Linked DNA regions of Homo sapiens: regions 2, 3, 4 and 5 are each linked to region 1. Evidence: promoter capture Hi-C in 16 types of primary human blood cells and fetal thymus (Javierre and others, 2016). All regions are on one chromosome and are shown on one strand. The core of a region is centred on a gene start or on the middle of the fragment in contact, and the rest is flanking DNA. Distances in the headings are between cores, read along the strand shown. Region 1 holds the start of NEURL4 (neuralized E3 ubiquitin protein ligase 4). Region 2 overlaps CLEC10A (C-type lectin domain containing 10A). Region 3 overlaps LOC105371512 (a long non-coding RNA gene). Region 4 overlaps POLR2A (RNA polymerase II subunit A). Region 5 holds the start of ZBTB4 (zinc finger and BTB domain containing 4).

The links. Contacts are between HindIII fragments. The CHiCAGO score rates a contact against its expected background, and 5 or more counts as called.
Region 2: a contact is called between a fragment that was not itself captured here and the fragment with the promoter of NEURL4 in region 1, in 1 of 17 cell types (monocytes). The highest score is 5.3, in monocytes.
Region 3: a fragment that was not itself captured here is called in contact with the fragment with the promoter of NEURL4 in region 1 in 1 of 17 cell types (M0 macrophages); the score reaches 6.9 in M0 macrophages.
Region 4: a fragment that was not itself captured here is called in contact with the fragment with the promoter of NEURL4 in region 1 in 11 of 17 cell types (total CD8 T cells, fetal thymus, activated CD4 T cells and 8 more); the score reaches 9.0 in total CD8 T cells.
Region 5: a contact is called between a fragment that was not itself captured here and the fragment with the promoter of NEURL4 in region 1, in 11 of 17 cell types (naive CD4 T cells, total CD8 T cells, naive B cells and 8 more). The highest score is 8.2, in naive CD4 T cells.

What each region holds. Positions count from the first base shown.
Region 1 is chr17:7,327,333-7,332,265 of GRCh38, forward strand. It overlaps NEURL4 (neuralized E3 ubiquitin protein ligase 4), which reads right to left and starts at 2,003. Exons shown (of 29, transcript NM_032442.3): 1 at 1,699-2,003; 2 at 108-552. The coding sequence starts at 1,980. RefSeq lists enhancers at 1,276-1,935, 1,918-2,212, 2,148-2,327, 2,358-2,407, 3,288-3,437 and a silencer at 1,708-1,947. The HindIII fragment of the contact is 8,367 bases long and covers 1-4,933 here.
Region 2 is chr17:7,072,010-7,076,942 of GRCh38, forward strand. CLEC10A (C-type lectin domain containing 10A) reads right to left here. Exons shown (of 9, transcript NM_001330070.2): 4 at 4,883-4,933; 5 at 4,724-4,795; 6 at 3,976-4,062; 7 at 3,722-3,876; 8 at 3,351-3,457; 9 at 2,528-3,213. The coding sequence ends at 3,045. Among named protein-coding and RNA genes, the nearest start is that of CLEC10A, 5.8 kb to the right of the region's middle. The HindIII fragment of the contact is 1,720 bases long and covers 1,148-2,867 here.
Region 3 is chr17:7,136,986-7,141,918 of GRCh38, forward strand. It overlaps LOC105371512 (a long non-coding RNA gene), which reads left to right. Exons shown (of 3, transcript XR_934191.3): 2 at 253-813; 3 at 3,693-3,778. It also overlaps the pseudogene RPL7AP64. Among named protein-coding and RNA genes, the nearest start is that of ASGR2, 25 kb to the left of the region's middle. The HindIII fragment of the contact is 880 bases long and covers 1,849-2,728 here.
Region 4 is chr17:7,492,919-7,497,851 of GRCh38, forward strand. POLR2A (RNA polymerase II subunit A) reads left to right here. Exons shown (of 30, transcript NM_000937.5): 2 at 3,023-3,155; 3 at 3,292-3,428; 4 at 3,522-3,695; 5 at 3,846-4,127; 6 at 4,438-4,599; 7 at 4,732-4,933. Among named protein-coding and RNA genes, the nearest start is that of POLR2A, 11 kb to the left of the region's middle. The HindIII fragment of the contact is 1,762 bases long and covers 1,325-3,086 here.
Region 5 is chr17:7,474,792-7,479,724 of GRCh38, forward strand. It overlaps ZBTB4 (zinc finger and BTB domain containing 4), which reads right to left and starts at 4,840. Exons shown (of 4, transcript NM_001128833.2): 1 at 4,665-4,840. RefSeq lists silencers at 4,147-4,196, 4,457-4,916. The HindIII fragment of the contact is 1,246 bases long and covers 1,804-3,049 here.

The sequences.
Region 1 (4,933 bases), core at 753-3,252:
ACAGACTTGGGGATCAGGGTGGCCCTGCCCACACCCAGCCTGTCTTGTCACTCTATTTCCCCCATTCCGTCCCCACCCCACCACCACTGCCCTAGCTGTGTTCTCACCTTCATCTGCAGAGGTCCCCTGTTCAGCCAAGGCAGAGTCTTCAGTGGGGGCCAAGGGCTCGAGGGGAGGTGTGGGGATGGGAGTAGGGGGGCTGAAGCCTGGCTCAGGGGGTAGCACGGTGATCTGGGTGCACTTGCCATAAAGGTCCACGACGGCCCAGACACGAGGGGGCAGGCCTGTGGCAGCCACACCGCAATCCCGCCCATTCACCCAGAGCCGAAGCTCCCCAGCAACTGTGCGCTCCACGCCCACGCGGTCCCCTTCACCAAGCTGGTCCAGGTCCTGACCATACTCCTCCAACACAGAGCGTCCATCTCTCAGCACAGAGCAGCCCGACACTACCCACGAGCCCCCCTTCAGGCCCGTGGCACTGCTTGGAAAGTCCAGCACACTGGGGTCCAGCGCTGTCACCCCAATCTCAATGGAGCCGCTCCAGGAGTTGACCTGGGATAGGGGTATTGGACAGAGGCTTAGAATGGGCCACCCCCCATTCCACAGGCCACCATATCTTCCCACCTCTCAGACAGCTAGCTGGCTTTCTGTCTCTTGGAACACTAATCCAGAGATGCAGACAGTGATTTTCTGGACTCCGTCTTGGTAATTATTTGGGCTTTCCTTTAGCAACTCTGCTCTCTACTCAGTGTTTACTAAACCACTCCTTTCCAAGCCAAGCACAAATTCCTTGGTTCCAACCTCCTGCCTCCTCTAACTTTCCTTGTCTCTATGGCTCTCCAACCATCCAAATTCTCCTACTTCCTATACCCACACCTCTTGCTCTTGTGTATCATTCATTCCTTTCCCCTGGCCTAATTCTCTCCAAAGATCAGGCTCTACCCAGATTCAATCTCCTTCCAAGTTCTTTTTCTGTGAGCCTGGCCTCTTCACTGAATCACACACACCTCCCTCACCCTGGATCTTTCTCCTCACCTATCTTTCTGGCACAGCCTCTGTCCTTCAATGGTTTGTTCTGTTTTTTTGAGACGGAGTCTCACTCACTCTATTGCCCAGGCTGGAGTGCAATGGCATGATCTCAGCTCACTGCAACCTCTGCCTCCCGGGTTCAAGCCATTCTCCTGCCTCAGCCTCCAGAGTAGCTGGGATTACAGGCGCACGCCACCATGCCTGGCCAATTTTTGTATTTTTAGTAAAGACGGGGTTTCACCACGTTCACCAGGCTGGTCTCAAACCCCTGACTCTAGTGATCCGCCCGCCTCGGACTCCCAAAGTGCTGGGATTACGTTTGTTCGTTCCTTGGCATCTTTCTTCACTTGCCATCACATCTCTGACATCTCTCCATCCTCCATGCCCAAGAAATTGTACCAGGAGGTCTGTTCCCAGCCATTCTAGTGGGTTAGCCCTCGTGTCCCTTCCCTGGTTCTGGATCTTGAGAAAACTCAAGCTCTTAATGTCATCTTCAAACTCAATGTTTCTGCTTCATGCTGTCTTCCTGACCGCCCCCTGGTGCTCTATGGTCTTTCTGTTCCCTCTCGGTGCCCGGCAATGTGGGCTACCCTGGCTGTCCTACCCCGTCTCCCTCTAGACGCCTCCCACCACCCTCCACATCTCTGTTCCGCGGTACCAGCGCTGCACCTTGCGGTCGATGCGGACGGTGAAGACGCGTCCATCGCGCAAGGGTTCTCGGCTCAACACCAGCCCGTGGTTAAACTCCTGGCCCGGCTGCTGCCGCCGCGCCGTACGCCCACAGGCCGACAGGCTCACCAAGCGCCCAGTGCGCGGGTGCAGTTCCCCGCCGCTGCCCAGACCCCCGTTGGACCCCGGTCCTGAGCCGCTCCCGCTGGGGCCCCCACCCCCGCCCGGCCCCGGTCCAGGGCCTCCCCCAGAGCCCCCACTCCCACCCGACCCTGCCGCCATCTCCGCTGACACCGGGGCAGCGCGACAGCCGCGCTTGGCGGCACCGTGGCAACCGCGTCGGGCAGACAGTCCGAGGGATACGACCGGGGGGCTGAGGCCAGGTATGCTTTACGGCACTGCCGGGCAATGAAGCAGCCCGCGCTAGGAGCTGGGGACGACCACGATGAGAACAGAAGGACACGGGGTCGGGAGCCTCGCTTTACGGCATAGCGAGGTGACGGAGCGGCTCCGAGGGGGACGAAGACCTGGGCAGGGAGCTTTTGCGACAGTGGGAGAAAGACACGCCCACCGCAGGCATCTTTACGACGGTGGGGTGCTGGAGCCCAAACACTTTCTGCTTTGCGACAGCGGCACCGACGACCCCGCCCTCGCTAGGGGGCGGTGACACCTTGAAGCACTCGCTTTACGGCAAGAGGGGGTGTCTCCCCTCGGGATGCAGGCTCCAAAGCAGCGTGAGCCGAGTCTGGAGGACCCAGAGAAGCGGTAGTGAAAGTCTCTTCCCGCCACCCGACTGAGGACGAAGTGTCTTGCAACAGTGCGGCAGTCCTTCCACTTTGCCTCACACCTCTTCTGATTGGCTGAGCTAGCCGACTGGCGGGGGTGGGGGAAGCTCGCTGATAGTTCAAGTCAAGCCCAGCTTCAACTCCAACTCAACCAAACTATTCCATGTTAAGACCACAAAGAGTCTAAAGAAGTCCCGACAGGCCGTTTCAAGCGACAGCGTTGATGACCCCAAAAGATCTCCCTTAGAGCTATTAACAAGCCCCCTGCCCAACTCCCCGAAGCTCAAGCTCAGGCTGGAGGACCGTGAGGTCACAGTCGAAGCTCCTGGCCTGGCCCCCTGACTGGGATTGGCTGGTTTGGATGAGGGTGGTGATGGAGAAGGGCGGGAACAAATTGCCCAGACAAAGAAAATCTTTGGGTGGGACACAAAGGAAAGGGGCGAGCGGAGGGACCCCCAGCCCGAGTCTCTATATAGTCTTGATTCCGCCCGCCGCAGCTCTGGAGCAGGGGAGAAGTGGACCCGGGACTGAGCCCGAGCATCCCCGGCCGGCAGCGGTGGGGGCGGGGCCAGGGGCGGGGCTACGTGGAGCCGGGAGGCGGGTCAGGATCGCTGAGAGCAGCCCCCCAGTGGGGCCATGGAGAAGGTGGAGTCCCTAGGGGCTGCTGGCGGCCTCAACCGGGATTCCCCTGGAGGGGCAGCCAGAGGAGTGCCCGCAGCGGTCACAGGAGTCGAGGCAGGCGCTGGGCAGCCCTCCAGAGTAGTCTTGTTTCACGGTTCTGGGCCCCACGTGCACTCAGGGGGCTCCGTAACTCATAGTACTGGTTCAAGCTGTCCCTCCGGGGGGATAGTGGTCCTTGGTTCCGGGCCCAGTCAGCACCCAAGGGAGGCTGCGAACCACAGCCTTGGGTCTGGCAGGAACCCTGGTGGATTCAACATCCCCGGGCCTCGAACCAGTGTATCCAGGGCTTCCAGCCCCGGGCCTGGGGGACCTGCAGGGCAAGAGGTAAACAGCCCCGGGTGCAGTCCGCACTCTGGGCCAACTTGCTTGAACCCCCAAAACTCCCAACAGGACCGGCCCCGGAGCATCCTACGAAAGAACAGCTCCAACTTGATGCAGAAATCCCCCAATGTGGAGAAGTAAGGAGCCCAGCTCTGCGGGCAGCCAGCCCAGAGTCGGGAGGGTTCAGGACACCTGAGGGTGGGAGCCAGAAGGAAAGGGGCAGAGCCTTAAGAATGAAGAGTTAGAGTAGGTGAGGGCAATTGAGTGGGAAGTCCGAGGTTCCAGGCTTTCGGGAGAAGAGCAGGTGCCCCATAAACCGTGGCTGCACAGGACTGTGATTATCATTAAGTCTGACCCCATCCCCAGCCTCAACAAGGTATAAGAAACCTGTTTTGAGTCGGAGTGGTGACTCATGCCTGTAATCCTAGCACTTTGGGAGGCCGAGGTGGGCAGATCACCTGAGGTCAGGAGTTCGAGACCAGCCCGGCCAACATGGTGAAACCCTGTCCCTACTAAAAATACAAAAATAAGCCGGGTGTGGTGGCAGGCACCTGTAATCCCAGCTACTTGGGAGGCTAAGGCAGGAGAATGGCTTGAACCGGGGAGGCAGAGGTTGCAATGAGCTGAGATCACACCATTGCACTCCAGTCTGGAAAACAGAGCAAGACTCCATCTCAAAAAACAAACAAACAACAACAAAAACTGTTTTGAATGCCACGCAGGGTAGCTCATGCCTGTAATCCCAGCACTTTGGGAGTGCGAGGCAGGCAGATCACGAGGTCAGGAGTTCAAGACCAGCCTGACCAACATGGTGAAACCCCATCTCTACTAAAAATACAAAAATTAGCCAGGTGTGGTGGCGCACGCCTGTAATCCCAGCTACTCAGGAGGCTGAGGCAGGAGAATCACTTGAACCCGGGAGGCAGAGGTTGCCGTGAGCTGTGATCGTGCCACTGCACTCCAGCTTGGTCAACAGAGCCAAGATTCCATCTCAAAACAAAAACAAAAGCAAAAAACAAAAACAAAAACAAAAAAAACCTGTTTTGAATGACTGGGAAAATGAGGGAGGCCTATGGGGGGGTCATTAGAAGGTCTCCTCCCCCAGCCCCAGAAGGAAGTCTCAGCACTGGGACGAGATGAATATCCTGGCCACCTACCGCCCTGCTGACAAGGACTATGGATTTATGATGGTGGATGAGCCCAACACTCCCTACCACAGGTGCTGAGCCCTCAGCCCCAACCCTTCAGTCCAGAGATTCTTCTCTATTTAAAGGAGGGGACAGGTGGAGGAGGCAGAGCGCCTCAGGGACTGGATACTGCCTGACACCCACCTCCCGGCACTGCTTCCCCCTCCTCTGCAGGCTGCAGGACAGTTTTGAGGACCTCTCTGCCGGCTCCTCCTGCTCAGTGAATCCTGGAGTGCTGGCAGAGAGGTAAGAGTCCTGCCA
Region 2 (4,933 bases), core at 758-3,257, 260 kb before region 1:
GGGATGGAGCATGGGGGTGTAGTACAGCTAGGCTGGAGCTGCAGTGGGGACAGAGATTGAATTTAGGGATGAATTTAGAGCCGACATTGGGACTGCAGTTGGGGCTGGAACTGGGATTGTATTGGTTTGGGGCTGTCCAACCCAATCTGGAAGTCAGTGGAGAGATCATTTCAATCTCCTCCAATAACTAGTTCAATCTGTGATCCATCTTCCCAGTTATTTCCACCTATAACACAAAGTCGCCCTCTCCATATTTTCCCTAATGCCCTCCCTGCCTCCGCCGTCCAGTTACCTGTACAAAACTAGAGAATGTAATTGTTTGCTTTCTTAGGTAGCAGAATTACCAGGTCAGGAAATTCTAGAGGGAACTGACTTGTATTGGTTCTCCTGCTCCCCTCTACATTCTGTGGCCCTGGTAGAACTGTGATCTCACGCTCCTGCTGGGTGGCTTCTCTCCCATGATCCAAAATCTTTCAGACCCAGGGGAGAGAGGCACAGAGCTGCTTGGGTGGATGATCTGGGTGGATGTTCTTTACTTTTGTGCCTTCAGGCTTCAGAGTGGTGATGTCTCTGCTATTCTTAGCCACAGGGACTTCACCAACTTTTGTTGGCTTCCTCAACCCTGCTCACACTCTGTAAATGTCATTAAACTCTTTTCAATAAACCCTTTTGTGGCCAAGCACTGCAGCTCATACCTGTAATCCTAGCAGTTTGGGAGGCCAAGGCAGGACAATCGCTTGAGCCCAGGAGTTTGAAACCACCCTGGGCAACATAGTGAGACCCTATCTCTACAAAAAATAAACTTAGCCAGGCATGGGGGCACACATCTATAGTCTCAGCTACTCAGGAGGCTGAGAAGAGAGGATTGCTTGAGTCCAGGAGTTCAAGGCTGCAGTGAGCTATGATCGCACCACTGCATTCTAGCCTGGGTGACAGAACAAGAACCTGTCTCTCTATATATATATGTAGAGAGAGAGAAAGAGAAATAAATCCTTTGGTTTTGACACCTGTATCTTGCTGGAACTGATTAAAAAAAAACCCTTTGAATAAAATTATAAATGTTTACTATGGTACACAGAAAAATAAAAAAGAATAAACTCCATTTGGAAGTCTAACAGGCTCCTCAAACTCAACATGTTCAAAATAAAGCTTCTTATCTCCTCATCCCACCCACAAAACCAGCTTCTCACACGGTCTTCCCATCTTAATTAACTGGGACTCCATCCTTCTAGGTTTTCAAGCCCCAAACCTGGAATTATCCTTGACTTTCTCATTTTCCCAAACCCCTCAGACAACCCATCAGCAAATCCTGACAGCTAATTCAGACATTCCTATATGCCAGGGAGCTTTCTGGGTACAGTAATACAGCAATGAATGGGTCCTGCCATCCCTTAATGAACTTAAAAAGTTGGTTCTTAATAGCTGAAATGCAGCTGGGTGTGGTGGCTCATGCCTGTAATCCCAGCACTTTGGGAGGCCGAGGCGGGCTGATCACCTGAGGTCGGGAGTTGGAGACCAGCCTGACCAACCTGGAGAAACCCCATCTCTACTTAAAACACAAAAGTAGCCAGACATGGTGGCAGGCTCCTGTAATCCCAGCTACTCGGAAGGCTGAGGCAGGAGAATCACTTGAACCTGGGAGGCGGAGGTTGCAGTGAGCTGAGATGACGCCATTGCACTCCAGCCTGGGCAACAAGAAGGAAATTCCCGTCTCAAAAAAAAAAAAAAAAAAAAAAATCAAAATAGCTGAGATGCTTCCCTGGTATATGCTGGATTGATTGAAAAAACAGAAATCTCCACCCCTCTCTATATCCATTCTCTACACAGTATGACTTTGTAGACCCCCCCCCAACCCCCCACCAAAATGTGGAATCTATTTCTCTGGCCCTTGAACCTGGGCAGCCTTGCAATCTGCTTTGGCCAATAGGATGCAGCAAAAACGATGCTTCAGTTCCAAGCAAGGCTCTGAAGTCCTTGCAGTCTTCCAATTTCTCTCTTGGACCCCCACCCAGCCATTCTGTGAACAAGGCCAGGCTAAGCTAATGTGGCCCAGTCATCCCCATTGTCCCAGCCCAGAGCCAGCCAAATATGAGACATGGGAGCAAGGCTACCCTAGACCAGCCAACCCCAAGCCAACCCACCAGCTGACCACGGACGCATAAACAAGCCCAGCCAAGATGACCCAAACCTGGCCAGACCAGACCTATAGCCTCATGAGCTATAATAAATGCTTACTGTATAAGCCCTGAGCTTTGAGGTGGTTTGTTACACACCAATTGCTAACCAATACACCTGGGGATCTTATCTACATCTCCCAACAACTCTGGGATCTTCAGAGAAATTAAACAATGGCTTTTCCTAATCACCCTAAGTTTATACCATCTTTAAGTGACAGAAAAGATTTGAACTCAAATCTATATGAGAAGAAAATGCTATTTTCTCAATCACATAGGACTTTCGAAGGCTTCACCTGGCTTCTCCACTCTGCCATTTTTAGATTGCCAAAAATCAAGCAACACAAAGTACGTAAGTTCTCACGAGAGTATATATTCACTTATATGAAGTATATACACGAGAGTGTATGATTTCACTTATATGAAGTTCTAGAAGCTCTAGAAGAGGCAAGGCCAATAAATAGTGAAAAAGAAGTAGATCACTGGCCTGGAAACAGGGAAGTGGTTGGACTGCCCAGAGGCATGAGGGGACTGGTGGGGGCGATGGCAATGTTATCTATTGCGATCGGAGTGGTAGTCACCTAGGCATGCATATTTGTCAAAGTCATCTCTACTCTTTAAATGAGTGCATTTTTATTATGTAAAAATTATACCTTCATGAAGTTGACTTTCAAAAGTTGGAAAAAAAATAAAAGCTTAAGAACACTATACCATCTTTTTAAAATTAAAGAGAAAAAAATTCAAAATGTTAGCAGTGCTTCCAATCTCCCAGTGCTTATTTCTCTCCCAGAGCGGTCTTGCGAGGAGGTCGTGAGAAGAGTCCTCCTCCCACCGCCATTTCTGTGGCCGGGTGGTCCCACCAAAGGCAGCTCAGTGACTCTCCTGGCTGGTCTGACCCAGGCCAGCCTCGCAGACCCAGTGGTAGGGCCTCTGGCAGACGTCGTCATTCCACCTGCCGTCTGGATGGAAGTGAGCACAGTCCTCGCCTCCACCCAGCCCGTGCCCCTGCCAGTCGTCTGGCTGGCCTGGCTTCCAGTTCCTGAGAGGAAAAGACAACAGCAAGCTAGGAAGGGTAGATGGAGTAGAATTCAGTTCAGGGGAGGAGAGGCTGCCAGTCAGATCCCTGGGGGAAACGCTGACGGAGGACATTGGCACAGAAAGCCAGGGTGCACTCACTGGAAGCCGGTCGCATAGTCTGTTCCATCCACCCACTTCCAGGCTCCTTCAGGGTCACTGAGGCCCATCCAGGTGTATGCGGAGCCTAGATATTTCTGGACAAAATTCTGCGGTGACAGAAGGGCAGTGGTGACTTCTTCCCATCCCAGCCAACTCCTTAAACTAGTGATTCTCAACTTTAGCTCTTCGTTAAATCAACTGAGGAGTTTGGAGATGTTTCTCTGGATGCTCAGGCCTATTAAATCTCTGAGGGTGTGGCACAGATGACAGTCATTCTGGAAGCTCCCAGATGATTCCAATGTGCGGCCAAGCTTAAGAACCATTTCCCTAAATGGGACATGTCTTAGGAACTGAGTACCAGAAGCCCTCACCTGCTCCTCCCTGGAGTTGATGACCACCAGGTGGGCGTTCTTCAGCTGGCAGTACTTCTCAGCCTCGGCCCAGGACATCCCAGAGTGAGAGAACCAGTAGCAGCTGTCTTGGTGCTCCACCCAGTTGACAGGGCAGCAGGTCCCTTCAGTGGAGGCTGATTGGGGAGAAATAGGATAGGGTGGAGAGGCTGAGGCTCTGCCCAGTGGGCCATGGGCAGAAAAGTAGGGCCAGGTACTCCCCATACCTTCCTCACCATTGTTGTTGAGAGTAGCCACCTGGCAGGTCAGTTTCTTCAGGTCTTGCACCAGCTGCTGGACTCGCAGGAGCATTTCAGAATGAACTGGGACACACACAGATGGGCAGTGGGGACAGTGGCCTAGGTGTGCCTTCTGCGTAGTGTGTTCCTGGAGCTCAGATACCCCTGCACAGGGCCAAGCCAGGGAATGTTCCTTCCCGCCCCCACCCACCCCCTACATCATGGCCAGGTACAGCCATCAAATCTGCTTTGGATTCCTCTGCCCCTGTTTCTCCAGCCTGCTCTCCAGAGAAAGCATGCTGCCTTTCTTTCTTTCTTTCTTTTTTTTTTTTTTTTTTTTGAGACGGAGTTTCACTCTTGCTGCCCAGGCTGGAGTGCAATGGCGCGATCTCGGCTCACGGCTACCTCCGCCTCCCGTGTTCAAGCAATTCTCCTGCCTCAGCCTCCCTAGTAGCTGAGATTACAGGCGCCCACCACCACACCCAGCTATTTTTTGTATTTTTTTTAGTAGAGACGGGGTTTCACCATGTCGATCAGGCTGCTCTCGAACTCCTGACCTCGTGATCCACCCGCCTCGGCCTCCCAAACTGCTGGGATTACAGGCGTGAACCACTGCGCCCGGCCTGCATGCTGCCTTTCAAGCTGCTGGCTGAAGGGGAGGGCAGTTCAGCACCAGGAGTCTGTTCCCACCTCCACTGTGTCTGAGCGCCTAGCCCCCCACACCCATACTCGGAGGGTCTCTCACCTGCCTGCCGTTCCTGCTTGAAACCCTCCACCTCAGCTTTCAGAGATGCTATCGTTTCTTCCAAGCTGCTGCCTGGAGGACACGGAGACTTGGCTTAGGGGTCAACTTCCTCCTCCCTGGCCTGGCCCCAGCCCAGAGCCCCATCCAAACCAGACTCACCCTGGGAAGTCAGTGCCTGGATCTCCGCCACAGTGTTTGAGGTGAAGTTGC
Region 3 (4,933 bases), core at 1,039-3,538, 190 kb before region 1:
CATCTTAGAGTCGAAAAAGGCTTGCGAAGCCCCTAAAGGTGTTGAGGCAGCTTGGCCTGAGACCGTGATAGCTTCTGTTTCATCCCCAGATCTATTACATGGAGTTCAGAAACCAGGACGATTGCATTTATAAGCCCCAAATTTAAAAGATTATTTGAAAAAGAGCTTCTTGAGTTTTACTCTTGATACACTAAATGCAATCCACAGCCTCTCTGCCCTAACAGACTTTCGTGTTCCTTCCCTCTTTTATAGTAAAATTAGGAAGTGGGGAGACGGGACAAGTAAGTAAGGGAATCTGCACAGGCTGAGCAACCCCACCCTCAGCCTTGCTGAGTTCTCTCCACCCAGAGGACACTGTACTCCTGCTCTGGGAAGACAGCGCCTCCCGCCAGGGGATTCCGCCAACCACCGCTCCCTGCAATCGGGGTTACCAGTGATGATTCTTCCCCCAGCATCACCCTACGGTGTCTTGGCAGCCTGCCTCCTTCACAGACTGCCTCGAGAGTCCCTCAGAGCTATTTCCTTAAAGACCAAATGCGAGCATATCTTCACTGACGGGGTTTCAGAGCCTCACTTTGCAAGTTTTGAGGCAGAGGCTCAAACTAATTTTGCTGAGAAGGACAGGAGAGCTGAGAGAAAATCAAACAGAACGGCGGCTCTCCTCCCATTCATGGCATGTAATGCTCTGGGCCCAGCTACATCTGCCATGGCCTCCAGGGACCTGCTGGAGGGGTCTCCCAGCCCCACCTGGTATAAGCCAAGCCTGCTCCAGACTCAGGATCTGCCCAGAGGGCTGGGATCTCACAGCCTGAGGTAAGCATGAGTCAGTCTGAATGTAATCTACCCTCCCTACACCCCTTCCCAGCCCCAGCCTCTCTGAGGGGTCTCATAGCCACCCAGCCTGCCTGTGACCTTTGCTGGCTATAGCTTTTCTTCCCATTAACTTTTTTTGTTTTGTTTTTGAGATGGAGTTTCACTCTGTCGCCCAGGCTGGAGTGCAATGGCGCGATGTTGGCTCACTGTAATCTCTGCTTTCCAAGTGCAAGCAGTTCTTCCCCCTCAGCCTTCCAAGTAGCTGGGACCACAGGCACCCACCACCATGCCCGGCTAATTTTGGTGTTTTTAGTAGAGACAGAGTTTCACCACGTTGGCCAGGCTGGTCTCGAACTCCTGACCTCAGGTGATGCGCCCGCTTCGACCTCCCAAAGTGCTGGGATTACAGGCGTGAGCCACCATGCCCGGCCCCCATTAACTTTTAATAATAAAACATGGTGGCCAGGCGCGGTGGCTCACGCCTGTAATCCCAGCACTTTGGGAGGCTGAGGTGGGCAGATCACGAAGTCAGCAGATGGAGACCATCCAGGCTAACACGGTGAAACACCCCGTCTCTACTAAAAATACAAAAAAATTAGCCGGGCGTGGTGGCGGACGCCGGTAGTCCCAGCTACTCCGGAGGCCGAGACAGGAGAATGGTGTGCACCTGAGAGGCGGAGCTTGTGGTGAGCCGAGATTGCACCGCTGCACTCCAGCCTGGGCGACAGAGCAATACTTCATCTCAAATAATAAAATAATAATAATAATAATAAAAACATGCTGCCTGATTACAGGAACTTAAACTTGTTTTGTTTACCCAAGCTGACATGTAAAAGTTACTAATAACTTCTTTGTCTAGGCAAGTTAGCAAATGACTTTGTAAGCACTGAGCAGCTCCCCTTAACTGTTTAAGTGGGAAGCCAGCCGTCGCCTACCCCAGGCAGGGGAGGCAGGACTTCTCCAGTGGCTCAGGGGAGACTGCCCTTCTTTGCCAGTTTTGGTTTGCAGACAGGTCACTGAAAGGTGGGGCCAAAAAGCTTCTGTGAAGCAAAGAAATTTGAGACCCTAGTCCCTTTCTTTTGGAGATCTAATGTCCTTAGAACCTCTGTGATGAACAGAGGCTCTAGCTGAAGTCCACTGACGGGGAAAGGCACCAAAGGGCCCGAGGGAAGCCCATCATGACTGAAGAGGAAATAGAACAAGTGACCCTGTGTCTTAGTCAGCTTGCACTGCCATTGCAAAACACCACGGACTGAATGGCTTAAACAAAAAAAAAACATTTCTTTCTCACAGTTCTGGAGGCTAGGAAGCCCAAGGTGAAGGTACCGGCAGATCCAGTGTCTGGGGAGGGCTCACTTCCTGGTTTACAGACAGCCACCTTCTTGCTGTGTCCTCACGTGGATGAGAGAGCACACTCTGGCCTCCTTCTCTTCCAACAAGGGCACAAATCCTATCGTGGGGACCCCACCCTCACAACCTCATCTAAATGTAATTATCTCCCAAAGGCCCCACCTCCAAATATCATCACACTGTGGAGTAGGGCTTCCACCTATGAATCCGGGGTGGGGAGGACAGAAACATTCAGTCCCTAGAATCCTGTATCAGTGCTAAGGCCTGGTAGGGTTTGTGAGGGAAGCCGCGTTTGGCACAGGCTGAAGGTGCCCCCTCACCAGATAGAGGCTGAGAAGATGTGCTTTGAGGACCTCTGCTGAGCAGGGCTATGAACTGAAGTGTTTTTTCCTCTGGAGCCCGAGGACACGGTGCAGTTGCTCAGCAGCACTAAGGAGGGACTGGGTGTGCCCTGAGCAAGCTGTCATTGGGGGTTAAAGACTGAAACTGTCACAGCCTAGGTGCCTAGTGGCTTCCGGGACAGAGCTAAGCAGGGCACAACAGGGGTAGACGGTCTGTTCCATTAAGCTTTTGAAGCTCGTTGTCTGAGGTAATACCCAAGGTTCATCGTCTCATGCCAAGGAAATTGAGGATGCAGGCACACACGACGAGTGAGTTTAAGAGCAGAGGTTTAATAGGCAAGAGAAAGAAAAGCTCTCTCTCCTGCAGAGAGGGAGGGGCTCCCAAGTCGGTCTTCTGGCTCCGAGGTGAAATGCACTGGGTGTTATAGGTGAGCTTGAGGAGGCAGTGTCTGATTTGGAGGTTTTGCCTTGTTTTGTTTTGTTTTGTTTTTGAGACAGAGTTTCGCTCTTGTTGCCCAGGCTGGAGTGCAGTGGCACGATCTCGGCTCACCGCAACCTCTGCCTCCCAGGTTCAAGGGATTCTCCTGCCTCAGCCTCCCGAGTAGCTGGAATTACAGGCATGCACACCACGCCCGGCTAATTTTTGTATTTTTAGTAGAGACGGGGTTTCACCATGTTGGTCAGGCTGGTCTCAAACTCCTGACATCAGGTGATCCACCCGGCTCAGCCTCCCAAAGTGCTGGGATTATAGGCGAGAGCCGCCGCACCCACCCGGCCAGGCAGTGTCTGATTTACACAGAGCCCAAAAGATTGCGGGACCAGGTATGCCATTTACATAGTGCAAGAAGAAGCTGGCCGCCCCACCCTAATCTTTTATTATGCAAATGGATTCTCTACCTGGTTGGCATCATGTTGCTGCTTCCTTTACTGTACAGGTGGTTGATAAGGAAAAGGGAAGATGAAGCCTCCATGTTGAACATGCCTGGCCCCAGGTAGCCTTTTCCGATTGGCACGGCTGCCGCCATTCACCCGTTCAAGCTTCCAGCTTGCCTGTCAATGTCTGCAGCTCGATTTTACAGGCTGCTCTTTGTTAGAAAAGAAATGATGTGGGGGCTGCTTTTTGTTAAAAGGGATGCCTTACCGAGGACTCTCTTACCCTCACCAACTGCCTAAGTAATTTCTTTTTAGCTCCCGTATTACTGCATCAAACTATAGCCAGATCCACGGTGACTACAGCGCAGCCACGGCAGGGGTGGCCTCTGGCTGAGCGGGACTTGTTTGCAGCAGCAGCATCTGGTGGCAATCGCAGAAATAAGAAGGCAGTCGAGGCCGGGCACAGTGGCTCATTGCTCATTGCTTGAACCCAGCAGGCAGAGGTTGAAGTGAGCCAAGATCGCGCCACCGCACTCCAGCCTGGGCAACAGAGTGAGACTCCGTCTCAAAAAAAAAAAAAAAAAAAAAAGAATTTCGGCATTTGAGAAAAGGCTTAAGAATCTGGCATTGAACAGGCTATCCAGCCCAAAAGGGACCTCACCTGCTTTGTTGATTGTTGAATGGCCCAACTACATCTGGTTGCAGTGGCAAACGGCTGACCTCCACGAGCAGCTGAAAGTGCCTCCTGCAAGTGACCGACTCATCCAGGCCTTGGACCGAGAAAACAGCTCCTCAACTGCATCAGCTGGACCATGGTACAGACCAGAGACAGGGCAAGAAAAGAAGCAGAGGCTATTGGCCCGTGCAGAGAAGAAAGCTGCCGGCAAAGGGGGCATCTCCATGAAGACCCCAACTGTCCCACGAGCAGGGTTAACCCCGACAGCACCTTGGTGGAGAACAAGAAGCCTCAGCTGGTGGTGACTGCACGTGACTCTCGTCGAGCTTGCTGTCTCTCTGTCTGCGCTGTGTCCTACAGTGGGGTTCCCTTACTGCGTTATCCAGGGGAAGGCAGGACGGAGATGCCTGGTCTGCAGGAAGACCCCAGAAAAGACTGTCACCTTCACACAGGCTCACTGGGAAGACAAAGCAGCTCTGGCTAAGGTGGCGGAAGCTATCAGGACCGATTACAATGGCAGGTGTGACGAGATCCACAGTCACTGGGGAGGCAATGGAACCTCCTTTGCAAAAATTATAACTGAGGAAATTATGACAGTGAAAGAAATCAGACCTAACCGACTCCATCTTGCGTCTAACCTTTAAGCTGTCCTTGTCCATTCCTCGGCGTGGGCTGAACAAACTTCGGGGAGGAATTCAGCTCGTGGTTTGACTCTGAAACAAAATTGATAATAGCCCTTAACCGAAAAGACTCTTCTTGCCTGGGGACCAGTCTGCCTTTGCAAGACTAACAGATTAGCTACGAGATCAGAAATTGTAGTTTAGGGGTCATGCAGACTCTGACTCTAAGAGTCGGAACTTCCCCACATTGCTCCTGGGAA
Region 4 (4,933 bases), core at 956-3,455, 170 kb after region 1:
GCAAATGTAGTCATCCATGAGGACTGTCTTCCTGAGATTTCATCAGGTCATGTTGATGAGAGTTTTGAACCTGTCTGAGGCTGAGAGGTGTGCAGAACTTCTTCAGCTTTGCATCTGTAGACCATTTTGGTTTCTACCCAGCAGTGGCCAATCAGACCTATTATGAGGGGATTACTGGTTTGACTGTCAGAGGGTAACCTCTCTTTTTCCAAGTTTTTTGAGGGTACCTCCCTCCAGTGGAGAGTCCTAAGCAGTAGGTCAATTTAACAGACATTTGTTAGGAGCCCACCATGTTTCAGGCAGGCACATGGGATTCAGGATGGTTGAGGCATTCTGCCTGCCTGAGAGGTGCTTATAGTTATAGGGAAGACAGACCCCCATAGGTCATTTTATTGCATTGTTGTATGTGCAGTGATAGAGGGCTGTGGAAGCACAGAGGAGGGGTGCCTGTCTACTTTGGGCAGGCTGTGGAAAGGCTTCCTGGAGGAAGCAGTGCCTGAGCCGAGTCTTGAAATAGGAGTTTTGCAGTGGGAAGAGCATTCCAAGCAGAGAGGCACTAGCATATAGAAAACCCCGGAGGAACGCAGCACGTGTTGCGCTGGATGTGATAGGCGACTCCAGGGAATTGTTACTGAGGAGTGAACAGGAAGGTGTGGAGCATCAGGGAAATGAAGGTTGAGAACATCATAAAATCCTTTTGGGAAGCTGTCCTGCTGAGTTTGGATGTCAGTCTGAGGACAAGAGGGTATGAATGATTACATTTTTAGTTTATTATTAATTTTTATTTTATTTATTTTTAGCACACATTTTTATTTTAGAATGAGCACCCCAGTTGTAATGTAGAAGGATTGGAGAGAGACAGGCTGGTGACCCATAGGAACGCTCTGTTGTAGACTACAAAGGAAGGGCCTGAACTAGGGCAATGGTGGTGGGGATGGAGAAGAGAGGCAAGATTCAAGAAACACTTAGGAGGCCAGGCGTGGTGGCTTATGTGTGTAAACCCAGCTGAGATTCCCGCCACTGCACTCCAGCCTGGGTGACAGAGCAAGACTTCTTAAAAAAAAAAGGGAGGTAAAAGTGACCAGTACCTGGTGAATGACTGAATAATAATAATGTCCATTCATAAAGCGCCAATTACATCCTGGACTTAAGCAAGCTAATTAAGTCCTTAATGGTTACATAGTTCATAAGTAATATAGGCAGAATTCCAAAGCAAGGGTGCCCGACAGCTAAGTCCATGTTCTTTGGACTGTTTTGTGCTTGAAGGTAAGGAAAGGTAAGCATAGGTTTCTGAATCTGGGATAGAGACTAAAGGAAAAAGAGAAGCTTTTGTGGAAAAGAGAGTTTGCTTTTAAACATGTTTAATTTGATTTTTTGGTGTGATGTTTGCAGGGGGTTCAGTAGGTAGTCACATACGTGAACCCAAAGTCCAGAAGAAAAGTAAGGCCTGGAATTAGAGAGTTGAGAATGAGTATCCAAGCATACCTTGGAGATACTGTGAGTTTGGTTCCAGCCCACCGCAATAAAGCAAGTCACATGGAGTTTTTTGGTTGCCATTGTGCATGTTACATTAGTACTATGCTGTAGTCTACTAAGTCTAAGTGTACAATAGCATTACAATTTTTTTTTTTTTTTGAGACGGAGTCTTGCTCTGTCATTCAGGCTGAAGTGCAGTGGTGCGATCTCAGCTCACTGCAACCTCCGCCTCCTGGGTTCAAGTGATTCTCCTGCCTCAGCCTCCCGAGTAGCTGGGATTACAGGTACCCATCACCACACCCAGCTAATTTTTTTGTATTTTTAGTAGAGATGGGGTTTCACTATGTTGGCCAGGCTGGTCTCAAACTCCTGACCTCAGGTGATCCACCCGTCTCAGCCTCCCAAAGTGCAGGGATTACGGGTGTGAGCCACCGCACCCGGCCCATCTACTTCTGAGTTCTTCTGTTTCCTCCTTTCCTTCATTGAAATGTCCCCATCAAGTCCTGGCTCTTCCTTTCTTGGGATTCCAGCTATTCACTTTTGCTTCAAATCATTTCCACCAACCTGTTTTTCTAGCACCTGTTTCTCCAGTCTTTTAATAAAATCTCTGGCCTGGCGCGGTGGCTCACGCCTGTAATCCCAGTACTTTGGGAGGCCGAGGCGGGTGGACCATGAGGTCAAGAGACCATCCTGGCCAACCTGGTGAAACCCTGTCTCTACTAAAAATACAAAAATTAGCTCGATGTGGTGGCGCTCACCTGTAGTCCCAGCTACTTGGGAGGCTGAGGCAGGAGAATCACTTGAACCCGGGAGGCAGAGGTTGCAGTGAGCTGCGATTGCGCCACTGCACTCCAGCCTGGCGACAGAGCGAGACTCCATCTCAAAACAAAACAAAACCAATAATAAAATCTCCATCTGGACACGAAAGGGTTCAAGCAGTTCAGGCCTTGAGAAGGAGGGCATGACAAAGATGAGGGAAAAGAAACAGGGCTGCATCTCTGAGTGCCTCGTTTCTTATCAGGGGCTTGAGTTGGCGGGGCATGTCTTGGTGCAGAACACCTGGGCTGTCATGGCGAGGGTACAGGTACAGAGAGGCTTCTGCCAGGATCTCAGATTCATGAGCTTGATTTCTGCTTGGGAGGAACAAATAAAGCATTGTTTTGTTTTTTTGTTTTTCCTGAAGCAACTTTGATTTCTTTTTGTGGCTAAATCCTATGGATGTCAGAGACCTAGAATTCAACCCAGATGGAAGTCTGGGGTTCATGTCCCAGTAGCAGGTGATTTGTATGGAACCCAGGATCGACCATTATCTAGTGTGAGTGCTTTTCCTGCCTCAGTGACTGGAATAAGCCTCTGACTTGGGATATTCAACTTTGGCCTTTTCAGAAGTGTACACACACCAATCCCCCATTCCCCTCACTCCAGGCTAAACTTAGTTCTTCTGTAAGTAGTTCAGGGTTTTCCCAGACCTTAGTCCAGAGCTCCCCAGCCACAAAGGCTAGAAACTAGGAACGCTGTTCAGTTGTTGGCCTTTCTTTCTTTGCAGAAGCGAATGTCTGTGACGGAGGGTGGCATCAAATACCCAGAGACGACTGAGGGAGGCCGCCCCAAGCTTGGGGGGCTGATGGACCCGAGGCAGGGGGTGATTGAGCGGACTGGCCGCTGCCAAACATGTGCAGGTAAGTGCTGGGGGGCCAGGTGGGATCCCAAAGGGGAGGTGGGTTGGGTCCTCAAAACTAGGGCTGACGGTTGACACCTGGAGGCCTCTGAGATGAGTGGGAGCTGGGAGGAAAGCACTGGGTGTGTGTCCCACAGGAAACATGACAGAGTGTCCTGGCCACTTTGGCCACATTGAACTGGCCAAGCCTGTGTTTCACGTGGGCTTCCTGGTGAAGACAATGAAAGTTTTGCGCTGTGTCTGCTTCTTCTGCTCCAAACTGCTTGTGGACTCTGTGAGTGGGGAACAGGCTCTGGTCTGGGAGCGGGGGTGCTTGGTAGGGGGCAGGGGGACAGCTTCAACTGACCCTGCTCTGCCCTGTCCCCAGAACAACCCAAAGATCAAGGATATCCTGGCTAAGTCCAAGGGACAGCCCAAGAAGCGGCTCACACATGTCTACGACCTTTGCAAGGGCAAAAACATATGCGAGGGTGGGGAGGAGATGGACAACAAGTTCGGTGTGGAACAACCTGAGGGTGACGAGGATCTGACCAAAGAAAAGGTGGCTGGGGCTGGCGGAGACTTTTGGGAAGGAGGGGTCAGAGGCCTGGAGGGAGGAAACTGGAAGGGAAGGAAACAGGAGGGGCTGGCCTGGTGTGGAGGGAAATGGCCCACCCTCTGGGCTCTGATGGCCCCTGTCTCTCCTTGGAAGGGCCATGGTGGCTGTGGGCGGTACCAGCCCAGGATCCGGCGTTCTGGCCTAGAGCTGTATGCGGAATGGAAGCACGTTAATGAGGACTCTCAGGAGAAGAAGATCCTGCTGAGTCCAGAGCGAGTGCATGAGATCTTCAAACGCATCTCAGATGAGGAGTGTTTTGTGCTGGGCATGGAGCCCCGCTATGCACGGCCAGAGTGGATGATTGTCACAGTGCTGCCTGTGCCCCCGCTCTCCGTGCGGCCTGCTGTTGTGATGCAGGGCTCTGCCCGTAACCAGGTCAGTGGCTCCAGGGCTCTGCCTCTTAGCTGGAGGGCGAGGTGTCTAAAGGGAGGAAGACCTGTAGGTGGGGATGGGTGGATGGACCTGGGTTTGAAAATTCCCCTGCTACTTACTAGCTGTATGATCTTTAATGAGTCCTTTCACATGGTTAAAGGCCACAAACGTGTTTCTGAATCTATAAATGATAGTGGGCAGTCCTGCCTCCTGGGGTGGTGTGAGGATGAGAGCTGTGCTGTGTGCCTGGTACGTTCCTGCCGAGCGCTGGCAGTGGTGGCTGGACCATGATGATTCTGACTTCCTGCCTCAGGATGACCTGACTCACAAACTGGCTGACATCGTGAAGATCAACAATCAGCTGCGGCGCAATGAGCAGAACGGCGCAGCGGCCCATGTCATTGCAGAGGATGTGAAGCTCCTCCAGTTCCATGTGGCCACCATGGTGGACAATGAGCTGCCTGGCTTGCCCCGTGTGAGTCAGCATGCTCCCCACCCCTCTGTGTATTGGAGCCAGGGTGGGGGCTAGCATGAGGCTTCAGAGCTCTGGAAGAGGGCCCAGTGCTGACTTTCTGGATTGCCCCCACCCTGTGTTTTTTCCTCACAGGCCATGCAGAAGTCTGGGCGTCCCCTCAAGTCCCTGAAGCAGCGGTTGAAGGGCAAGGAAGGCCGGGTGCGAGGGAACCTGATGGGCAAAAGAGTGGACTTCTCGGCCCGTACTGTCATCACCCCCGACCCCAACCTCTCCATTGACCAGGTTGGCGTGCCCCGCTCCATTGCTGCCAACATGACCTTTGCGGAGATTGTCA
Region 5 (4,933 bases), core at 1,177-3,676, 150 kb after region 1:
ACTTGAGGTCAGGAGTTCCAGACCAGCCTGGCCAACATGATGAAACCCCATCTGTACTAAAAATACAAAAATTAGCTGGGTGTGGTGGTGCACGCTTGTAACCCCAGCTACTCAGGTGGCTGAGGCAGGAGAATTGCTTGAACCGGGGAGGTGGCGGTTGCAGCGAGCAGAGATTGCGCCACTGCATTCCAGCCTGGGCGACAGAGTGAGACTCTGCCTCAAAAAAAAAAAAAAAAAAAAAAAAGGCCAGGTATGGCCAACTCACGCCTGTAATCCCAGCACTTTGGGAGGCCAAGGCAGGTGGATCACCTGAGGTCAGGGATTGACCACCTGCCTAGCCAACATGGTGAGACCAGCCTGGCCAACATGGTGAAACTTGGTCTCTACTGAAAATAAAAAATTAGCTGGGCGTAGTGGCGGGCGCCTGTAACCCCAGCTACCCGGGAGGCTGAGGCAGGAGAATCACCTGAACCCGGAAGGCGGAGGTTGCAGTGAGCCAAGATCATGCCATTGCATTCCAGCCTGGGTAACAAGAGAGAAATTCCGTCTCAAAAAAAAATTAAAAGAAACCATAAATAAGTTGACCACTCTGGAGTCCTCACAATTTGCCTCATACTCTTCTTGGGGCCTCACACACATTACCTCATTTAATGATATTCTCAGTACAGCCACCCACAATAGGTTTTATATTATCCTGTTGCCCAGGCTGGAGCGCAGTGGCGTGATCTCGGCTCACTGCAACCTCCGTCTCCTGGGTTCAAGCAATTCTCCTGCCTCAGCCTCCAGAGTAGCTGGGATTCCACGCCCAGCTAGTTTTTTTATTTTTAGTAGAGACAGGGTTTCTCCATGTTGGCCAGGCTGGTCTTGAACTCCTGACCTCAGGTGATCCACCTGCCTTGGCTTCCCAAAGTTCTGGGATTACAGGCATGGGCCACTGCGCCCGGCCATATTATTCTAATTTTACAGAAGAGGAAACCGAGGCTCAGAGAGGGATATACCTTACTCGAGGTCGCACAGCTTGTAAGCAGCAGTCAAGATTCGAATCCAGGCCCAGCTGACCCCAGATGCTCAATCTTTCCCTCTGCCATACTGCTAGACCTGGCCCTGAAGAGGCCTATGGCCCGCCAGCTGGTTACATAAACCACCGCACAAGGTCTCACGTGCTAAGTGCTAAATGTGTCATGTCTGACTCCACCCTTTCCCTCACTTCCACATCCAGCAGTCATCAAGTGTGGCTGAAATCGCCGCCGAGCTTGGGAATGGCTCTGGAAATCTTCCCTTCGATAGCTCAGGTCCTTGTTAACACTCACGTGGTCCAAGGTTATGGCCTCCCAGCTATCCCCTGGCCTCCAGGCTTACCTTCCTCCATCCAGCCCTCCTCCCCCTGAGGGTCAACGTCCCTAACCACAGTTCAGGACTATCACTCCTGGGCTCAAAACCTCCACTGGTCCCCACTGACTCTAGAAGAAAGTTCAAATTCTTCTACCAGGCAGTCAAGGGCTCTGGTCTAGCTCCAATCTTCCTTTTTAATCTTGCCTTGTGTTATCCTCTTCAAACACACAGTACTCAGCGTGAGCCAGGCGTGATGGCAGATACCCATAGTCCCAGCTACTCAGGAGGCTGCAGCTAGAGGATTGCTTGAGCCCAGGAGTTTGAGTCCAGCCTGGGCAATATATTGAGACCCAGTTTCTAAACAAATGAACAAAACCCCAGACACCCAGTGTGCTCTCCAGCTTCTACATGACCCACACCTTCATGCCTTTGCCTGTGCTGGCTTGTTCTGCCAGAAATGCTCTTTCCCCAAGCTTGTCAAAATCCCTCCAAAACGTTAAGATCTGACTCCAAGGCCACCTCCTTCTTGGCCCTCCCTGATCCACAGGATGAGAACGATCATTCCTTCCTCTGACTCATCAACCTTTTGTGCTCCTATGGCCAGCATCCACCTTACACAGCAGCAGAGACTCAGGTTCTCATGCCCTCAGCTGGGGATCCCTGAGCATCCGGGTCTTCTGAAATGGACTGCTGCAAATGCTAAGTTCTGCAGCAACTGGGGAGAAGAGTGTTGGAGGGAGTTGCACAGAAAGGACCATCCACTGAATGTTCCAGAAGGCAGCAGAGTACAGTAGTTAAGAGCACAAGATCTTCAACCTGATTGCCCGGGTTCAAATACAGCTTCACCTCTTACTAGCTAAGTGACTTGGGGCAGATTACTTAACTTCTCTGGACCTCAGCTGCCTCACTTGAAAAAGGGAGGTAGAGTGCCTACTTCAGGGTGTTGTTCTGAGGACAGAGTGGCCACATATAAGTGCCCTGAGGACAGGCTGGTGCACGGTCAGTGCTAAGCAAGTGTGTGCTGCCATTATTATCAGCGAAGCCCCAAGAAGGGAATTCCCAGTCCTGGGGGAGGGCTGACAGGGGCTGGCATAGGCACAGCCCCCAGACTATAGCCACTTTCCGGGTCCGTTTCCCATGTGCTTTTGGAAGATACGCAGGGCAGACAATCAGCCCCATTCTGCAGATGAGGAACTGAGCTTCCTTCAGATCAAGTGCCAGTGAGGGAATGGTAAAGACGCCAGAGCTCCTCAGCCCTGGACCATGGCTCCTTTCTCTTCACCAGACCGTCACTGTGCACCTGTTGAGCAGGCTCCCACGGCAGCCACCCCTTCCCAGCCCCCCATGCCGGAGGGCCTGTCCGCAGCACCCTCCCTTCCCCCACGTACACACATCCTTCCAGTGGGGCCGGGCACAGTAGACAGTGGTGTGCAGGCTTGGAATGCACTTGCACACACACCCCTAGAAGGGCCCAGTCCCCAAAGGTGAGGAAAACCTGTTCTGAGGAATCTGCCTAGTGAGCGAATTCTGTTCTGAGGCCCTTCCACCGTCGCAGGAGTGGGGCCCAGTGTGCGTCAGAGATACCCACAAGGGGGGCAGAGAGAGGGAGAGGGTGAAGCAGGAGGAGGCTGAAAACTTCACGTTTCTTTTTTCCATTTTAGTGACAAGAGTCACACCCAGCCTTTACATAAACATGGCCAAGGAGCCTCTCTGTCTAAGCTTACTTCCCTTGTGGCCGCCCAGCCTCTCCTCCGGGTGACCCTGACACGCTGGGCAGGCTCATGAGGGGCAAACATACAGACCCTGCAAAGATTAGCTGGGCCATCTGACAACACCCATGCCTCCCGCCGGCCTCCATGCGCTACCCTGCATTTATCTCCCGCCTTCCTCATACCAAATCCCCTCCGCAGCCCCACCGCCACTTAAGCACACAGACGGCAGGCACGCACACACAGCCTGCTTGCGGCTGGCCTCTTGGGTCTGAGGCCCACACTGCCCTTGTCACGCCACCTCCCTCCCCACATGTGTTTTCTGACCAGTTTGCCTCCCAGCTCAGCAGCCCAGACAGGCTCCTACAAACAACGTCACAAAAGAATCCTGTGGAGAATGTTGCAAACACACAACCTTCCCCTCGCTTGGCTGCCCATGATCCCATAAACACAACTGGCGCATTCCACCTCGAGCCCCTCACACCAGTGCCAACTGACCCACAGGCCCCTGAGACATACCCCGGGGTTCCTCGCTCCTCTCATGATCTTTGGGATCTGAGTTCTAGACGCGCAGCCCCCATGCAACGCGCTCATCACAGACACGCAAACCCATCCATCGCCCTCTTCACCACTGGACCACACCTCAGCAGGGCCACAGAAATGGGACCCAGACGTGACGCCTTCTGACTCAAAGGCCCACAACCGCCCCCTCCAAAAGGGCACATACACTGCATCCTGGCACCCTCCGCAACACATACAGCATGCCAGCTCTGCAGAAAACAGTTCATAAACAGGTCATAGGTGCAGCACAAGACACACATGCGAGAAAACACATGCTGTAGAAAACATACAGCCCCACATCGAACAAACTCTGCACCCAGCATGCTGTGCCCTGCTCAGAATACCCATCTGTCACCCAAAGCCACAGGGCTCGTCTTGTAACTCTGCCCCACAACACTGGACACCCTTCCTGGCTTTCTATCTCCATGGCCCAGGGAGGGCCCTACCCAGACCCCTGGCTGCCAGCAAACGGTGGTGCCCAGGAGAGGTTTACCTTGCCCCACCACACAGCACAAGACACACGATCTCCAAGACTCACAGCCACAACCCTGCCCCGACGGCGCGGCGGTTCCGGGGCCCCAGCTCGCCCTGCGCACCCCGCACACCCCAACTCTGGGGCGCTCGGCGGCCCACCCCTCCCCCTCTCTGCCTGGCTCCTACGCCATCACCCTCCCAGCAGCTTGCAGCGCTTGCCCGGGCTCACACCCGCCCCACCCCACCCCCAATCTGCCCCACGGGGGGAGGGGGCCATTAGGCTGCAGAATTAACCCTTCAAAGAGGGAGTGAGCACCTCCCCTTCCACGGCCCCAGGCGATCGCGTCCCACGGCCGCCCCTCGCTCGGACGCCATACCAGGGCCCCCTTAGTCGCCCCCCAGCGTCGTGCGCGCCCGGGGGCGGGGCCAGGCTCAGCCCCCGACCCCTGCGCCCCCAGGTCAACCCCAAAGGAGAGCGGTCTGGGCGCGGGGCGCGGTCGGGGCTCCCGCAGCGCCGGGCAGCGGAGAGGGGGCCTGGCAGTTGGCTCCGGTCCGCCCTGGCCCTGCCCAGTTCGCCCCAGGGCCCACCTGACTGCGATGGCGCCGCGTCCGCCAGGCCCGGCTCATCACCGTGGCCGCCCCCGGCCGCTCCGGTTTTGCCCGCCTCCAGCTCCGGCTCCGGCTCCAGCTCCGGCCCTGGCCCCCCCAGCGCCTGGCCCCGGCCCGGCCCCGCTGCCGCCGCCGCCGCCGCCGCTGACATCATCGGCTCCCCCCGCCCCGGTCCTACCCCCACCCCCACCCCCGGAAACAGTCCCCCCCCAGCGCCGCCGCCGCCGCCGCCGAGAGGAGGCCGGCGC